2 separate regions of the Homo sapiens genome follow, and region 1 is linked to region 2. Evidence: promoter capture Hi-C in human tissues and cell types (Jung and others, 2019). All regions are on one chromosome and are shown on one strand. Each heading gives the region's core, a stretch centred on a gene start or on the middle of the fragment in contact. The rest is flanking DNA. Distances are from core to core; before and after follow the strand shown. Region 1 overlaps MED27 (mediator complex subunit 27). Region 2 holds the start of FUBP3 (far upstream element binding protein 3).

The links. Contacts are between HindIII fragments. The study calls those that stand out against the background at their distance.
Region 1: a contact is called between a fragment that was not itself captured here and the fragment with the promoter of FUBP3 in region 2, in 1 of the 25 tissues and cell types used here (hippocampus).

What each region holds. Positions count from the first base shown.
Region 1 is chr9:132,071,094-132,074,158 of GRCh38, reverse strand. All of the region lies in intron 2 of MED27 (mediator complex subunit 27), which reads left to right. Among named protein-coding and RNA genes, the nearest start is that of MED27, 7.2 kb to the left of the region's middle. The HindIII fragment of the contact is 9,993 bases long and covers 1-3,065 here.
Region 2 is chr9:130,577,814-130,581,187 of GRCh38, reverse strand. FUBP3 (far upstream element binding protein 3) reads right to left here and starts at 1,611. Exons shown (of 19, transcript NM_003934.2): 1 at 1,424-1,611. The coding sequence starts at 1,507. It overlaps LOC100272217 (a long non-coding RNA gene), which reads left to right and starts at 1,694. Exons shown (of 1, transcript NR_027440.1): 1 at 1,694-3,374. LOC124902286 (a long non-coding RNA gene) reads right to left here and starts at 1,348. Exons shown (of 2, transcript XR_007061818.1): 1 at 940-1,348; 2 at 1-529. RefSeq lists a silencer at 1,294-1,663. The HindIII fragment of the contact is 10,079 bases long and covers 160-3,374 here.

The sequences.
Region 1 (3,065 bases), core at 565-3,064, 1.5 Mb before region 2:
CCTATAGATAATTGTTGTGAGAAGGATGACAAGCTTTCTTGACTAGGGCAAAAAATAATTGGCATCAACGCTGTCCTTGCTATAAAATAGTCAATGTAGACTTGATAGTGCTTATTATGTTCAGAGATGCTGAGAGTTAACCTGAACTTATTCTGAAGGTCCTCTTTTGAAGGTTTCTGGCATCCTGTCACCAGGCTTTTATTTCTGGCTTTGATTTTTTTCATTTGTTTATGGCAGAAGGCTACTTGTATATTTGCCTGGAAAAGCAGACTAAGACGTCCGCCTTTCCCTGGCAACATCTGAAGCTGCAAAGACCCCAGAAGTGTCACTTTTTACTGGGCTTGGGAAATGGGCCCAGAGCGAGGTGCTGCTGCTACCTTTTTTTTTTTTCACGTTTGATTTTTTTTTTATTACAGAAAGAGCAACTTTCTATTCCAAGAATATTCCATTGGAAAGTCTGAAGACATTTCCTCCCTCCTGCCCTCCTGAACTGTTCTTATTAGAATCCAGTTGCTTAATGACTAAGTTACTGCAAAGTTCACCTCTCACATCTATCTCTGAAGGTGCTCTTTTCTGTTTTTGCATCATGGAACTAACAGGGTTGGAATCGTTTTACATTGCAACGCAGAGCCTTTCCTTTAGGGACTCTGTCCTCTATTAAGGGTAAACTATAAGGCTCAGGGGAGAGGCACCATGTCCATCTTGTTCCTTGCTGGGAGTCCCCAGCAACTAGCAAGGCGCCTGGTACACTGTAATCATTCAGTGAAGATTCACTGAGAGAATGAAAGAATAAATGAATCGAAGCGTTTTCTGTTGAATTTTTAATTTACAACCCCTTTCGTGGTTTGCTTGCTTGTATTTTTGATGAAGTACAGTGAGGGCATTTCCATTTTCAGCCATTACTGAGAAAGCCAGTTGTGGTGCTTGGATGGGAGGCAATTTGGAGACCTTATGATGGAGGCCAGGGCTGGGGGTCATTTGGAAGGCCAAGGTGAGGTCATTGGGTGAACCAATGATAAGCTCTTTGAAGGCTGATTGTAGCAGTTTTATCCACATCATCTGTCACCTGGTGTGCCCTTCTAATGGGACTTGGTGGAAGTTTTTTGGAGTTGCCTGAGTCAGGCTAATTTGAGCTGCTGCACCTGATGTCAGGTGTTCTGTGGCGGCTGTCATTTTGGCAGCAGTGTGAAAACTGTCTGGGAAGAGGAGAGTCAATTCCACCAGCCTCTTAGGGTTATCCTACTTTGTGAGTTACGTATAACCGATTTCTACTTGTGTTTTCCTTCCCACCAGGCCCACCCCTGACTCATTCTTCTCTCCATATAGCTGCTACATGTTCAGGGAATACAGATTCCTTCAGAATATAATAGGAGAGAAAATCACTTAAATGCCCCTCACAATTTAATCATCATGACTTTAGGATTGAGCACCCTTCTGAATTGTCCTTTTATTGGCAAAGGTGTTCTTTCACCTAAATCTAACCTTCGTAGCACCCCATCACTCAAAATGAACTTGCTAGCGTAGTGAGTTTGGCTGTAGTATAGACTGCCCTGGTTAGCCTTGAACCCTACACCCTCCTCCTCCCTCCCCACCTGCAAACCCTGGATACCGTGGGAGCCATTGTGAAAAGAACAGCCAACCAGAGAAAACAATGAAATACAGCCAGTCTCCTGGACAGCAAGATACATGGCAGGATTCAGAAGTCAAGGAAGGTATAACAAAAATATAAAAACTTAGATGTAAGTTCTGGAGTCAAGACTACCTGAGTTCTGATCCAGCTCTGCTTATGCTTGAGCTCACAACCCTTGATACAAGGGAAAAAAATCTTTTTGAGTATCAGTTTCCTCATCTGTAGAATGGGGATAATACTAGTATTTGGATCATAGGGTTGAAGCGAAGATTGAGATAATGCACATCAAATGTCTTAGGGTAACTCACACATAGTAAGTGCTAAGTAAATGGTAGTTATAATGACCAGGCATCGTGATAGTACACATGTGTGTACTCATTTATGGAACGTGTGTTACTTGTACGCATGTGTACTCATGGAGTGCGTGTTACTCATATGCATGTGTACTTATTTATGGGGTGTGTGTTACGCAAGTGCCTGTGTGCTCGTTCACGGGGTGCGTGTTGCGCATACACGTGTGTGCTCATTTATGAGGCGTGCGTTACTTCTGTGCCTGTGTACTCATGGATTGCATGTTACTCATATGCCTCTGTACTCATTTATGGGGTGTGTGTTACTCATATGCTTGTGTGCTCATCCATGGGGCGCGTGTTATGCGTGTGTGTGTGTGTGCTTGTTCATGGGGTGTGTGTATGTGTGTACTCACTTATGGGGCGTGCATTACTCGTATGCATGTGTGCTCGTTCATGGACGTGTGTTACTCGTATGCATGTGTGCTCGTTCATGGACGTGCATTACTCGTATGCATATGTGCTTGTTCATGGACGCGTGTTACTCGTATACACGTGTGCTCATTCATGGGGCACGGGTTACTCATGCGTGTGTTCGTTCATGAGGTGTGGGTTACTTGTATGCATGTGCTCGTTCATGGGGCACAGGTTCATGGGATACGGGTTACTTGTGTGTTTGGTGTGCTCGTTCATGGGGTGTGTGTTACTCGCATGTGTGTGTGCTCATGGAGTGAGTGTTACTCGTACGTGTATGGACTTATTTGTGGGGTGTGTGTTACTCGTGTGTGTGCTCATTTATGAGGCACCTGTTATTCATGTGTGTGTGTGCTCGTTCATGGGGTGTGCGTTACTCGTGTGTGTGCTCATTTATGGGGTGCATGTTACACGTATGTGTGTGTGCTCATTCATGGGACGCCTGTTTCTCGTGTGTGTGCTCGTTCATCAAGTGGCAGTGTTGCTCGGTGGTTCAGAGCGTAGGCTCCAGAGCCTGACCACTCTGGCTCACATGCTGTGTTACCTGACAGCTGTGAGGCTAACCTCTCTGTGCTTCAGTGCTGTATTCTCTAAGATGGGAATGATAATTGTACCCACCTCAGAAAGGTGTTATGAGGACAAAATGAGGTGATACAAGTAAAGCACTTAAG
Region 2 (3,374 bases), core at 362-2,861:
ACTACAGGCCTTCTGCAAACTGAGGATCTGAGCCCTTTAGGGCAGTGACTATAATTCTTCCCGGACATAGAAGGCCAACAAGGTGACTGTCACACATCAGCACAGAGCGAAAGCCATTACATATTAGTAGCCAGTGAGAAACAAGGTTCAGGACCCTGTACTGTAGAGGAGAGCACTGTAACACGCCAGCAAGCAGAGTGGTGGAAGGGGAGCTGGGTGGCATGTTCATCCATTACAGCCATGGGTGGATCTGAAGTCTAAGTAAGATGGATACTCACTACTGTACTGGTTGGCAGCTAGGCAGTAAAGTAACAATTCATCAGATAAAATTTTAGGTGGAACCACAGGTTTGGAAAGTTCTGGGATCCAATATAATGTCTATAGGAGCATCAATATATAACATGAAAAGTCAGTTATCAGGGAAACAGGTAGGGTTCCCTCCCCTGGAATACTGGAAAGAGATGTAAAGACCATATCTTCAAGCGCCCGAGTGAAGACCTTCTTCTAATACAATGACTCCTGTGGCTTTCTGTTAGGAATCAAGCAGTAATTAGTTATAGCCCAACTTTTAAAGTATCAGTGCGCTTACAATTACATAAGAAGAGAGGAGGACATAAGACACTTAACCGAGGAAGCTGAAGTGTTAGGGCTGACTTGTAAGTAAGTTTTAGATACAAATGAAGAACACGTTCTGTTCTAAGTACCATGCCAGAAGCCAGTAAGTATTTTTGGCAGGTCCCATATTCACTCTCTGGGGAAGCCTGGAGCCTTCTAAAACCCAGTTAATTTAACTTTGATTAAATGCACGACATTGTCAGACAGTAAAGTTTCAATGTCGGAATGAGGCCATATCATTCTCCCCAGTAGAGGCAAGCTTGCCATGAGAAATTTCTACATCTTGGGGACCACCCCCACACATGTAACACCTCCCTCTCTCACCTCTCCAAAGAGCACCCTCACATATAAGATGCCCTCGAGTTCCTTCTACTCAACAGAAAGTCTAAAGACGATGTTCCCCAAGTTTTAACAAGCTACTGGGCGTCAGACAGCTGCTTTATGTCTACACCCAGATCCTCCCCGTGGGCTTCCCGGACCCCTCCCCTCGCGAGGTTCAGAACCCCGCGCTAGCTACACTGTGGGTCCAGGCTGGCCGCTGGGGCACGATGGGGCCAGACGCTCTAAGCAAACCCTTTCCCAGCGACTTCAGGCACCTGGGAGACCCGCCCGACAGGCCGGGCCTGGGCCTCGCAGTGGCGCCTTATCCCCCCGGCTCCTCCCGGCTGTAGGAACTCCACGGAACGGCCCGGCCCGGCTGAGACGTCGGTTCAGGCTGCCTCCCGCCCCCCAGGCCCGAACCCCTCTTCCCCGCCCGCCAGGCCCCGCCTCGGGATCTCGTGCTCCTGCCAGCCGGCTGCGCCCGTACCTGCCGGACCCGGTGCAGGGCATCCACGAAGCCCTCGGCCTTCATCCCCACAGGAGCGCTCTGCCCCTGCACCAGCTCCGCCATTACCGCCCCCGCCGCCGTCGCCGCCGCCGCCGACGCCGCCGACGCCGCCGCTCGGCTCCCCGGTCCGGCCTCCCGCTCCGCTTGGGGACCCGTAGCCGGAAAAGGAAAGTCGCCCTACTTCCGGCGGAAGGGAAAGCCGGGACGCTCGCAGCTGGAGGAGTCGCGTCTGCGGGGCGGGGTCAGGGCACGTGACCTTCGACCGATCGGAAGTGGGGGCGGGACGGCAGCGCCGGGGTGGGCTCAGATCGCCAGGCAGCCGTGGGTCTCCAGGGTCCGGTCGCGACCCTTCCCTTCCCGGGCGGGATTTGGTCCAGGACCGTCGATGGCGTCTTGACAGGTCCCCGAGGCTTGGATGTGGTCCCGAGGTGTCCGCTGTCGGCCGTTTGGAATCTCAGAGGGACTGACGTGGCTCTCCCAAGACGGCACCCCGAACAGTCGTGGTTCATCAAAAGCCTGGTCCTGGGTAGCCCCTCCCTGAAATGGCTGTTGGTTGGGAATTTGGGGGCTGAGCGCTTTGAAAGGGCATTGGGACAGCATCACAGAATGTCAGTGTCCCACATTTGCGAGGAGTCCCGGGCCCCAGTTCTTACACTGCAGTTTGCATGAGGATGGGCCACCGCCACTTCCGCCTGGGGTTGTCTGGTGATGCCCCCAGGAGAGACGCGCCCACTGAAAAGCCAGCGTGGTGTCCTCTTACACGGTCCTTAACAAACTCTGGGACTCTGGGGGTGCAGGAAATACCACAGGACCGTCATTACTCCCATACCGGCTGAGTCACAACTGTATTGCAGGAGGCTTCTTGGAACGCCTATGTAACTTTAATGGAAGTGACCAGGTACAGATCTTCTACAGCAAGGAAGGAATCTTAGTGCTAGAATTCAGTTGAGCCTTTGAGTTGGCTCTTCTTATAAGTGAGCAAACAAGTAACAAGGTTTAGGGGGCGCCCATTTTTGTGTTAGCACGATTGCCCTCGTGTTTAATATTTCCCAAGCCCTATTATGATAAGGAGTTGGACTTAATGAAGAACCATGTTGTCAAACATCTTATGCCCATCTTGAAGTTGTGAAGGAGGATGAGCACCAAGAAAAGGAAATAAATAAAATCCAATACGGGCCGGGTGCGGTAGCTCACGCCTGTAATCTTAGCAGTTTGGGAGGCCAAGGCAGGCAGAACTCTTGAGCCCAGAAATTCAAGACCAGCCTAGGCAGCATAGTGAGACCCCGTCTCTACAAAAAATATAATTAGCTGGGCGTGGTGGCAAACACCTGTAGTCCCAGCTACTTGGGAGGCTGGAGTGGGAGGATCACCTGAGCCCTGGAGGTCAAGGCTGCAGTGAGCTATGATCACGCCACTGCAGTACAGCGTGGGTGACAGAGCAAGACCCTTTCTTGGGGAAAAAAGTCCCATATAACTTTCCTTGATGACCCCACCCTCACCCCTCACTGTGTCATTATGCCAAGAGAGCTTTGGGCATTCTAAAGAAGTATGAGGAATACTTGACCAATAACCAAAGTATAGTTATTTATTTGTTAATGACTTCTTTCCTAGACTGTGAGTTACTTTAGAGCAGAGACTTATTTTTCCCTGTATCCCTAGGGTGTGGCACATAGTAGGTGCTTAGTAAACTTATTTTGCATTCAATAATGCCAAGTAGAATAATTCATAGATTATGGCAAAATAAAAGAATTTGGCAAAATTGCAAGATTGAAGATTGCTTTCAGAAAAAATGTTCCAACCCCTGTTCAAAAGTACATAGCTTGCTGTGTTGTTGAAGTGCCAGCACGAGGAGGACCATGCCAACACATCCATTTATTGCCCATTCTGGGTGTGTTGAGCGTTTTAAGTTTGCTATGCTTGTAAAAATCAA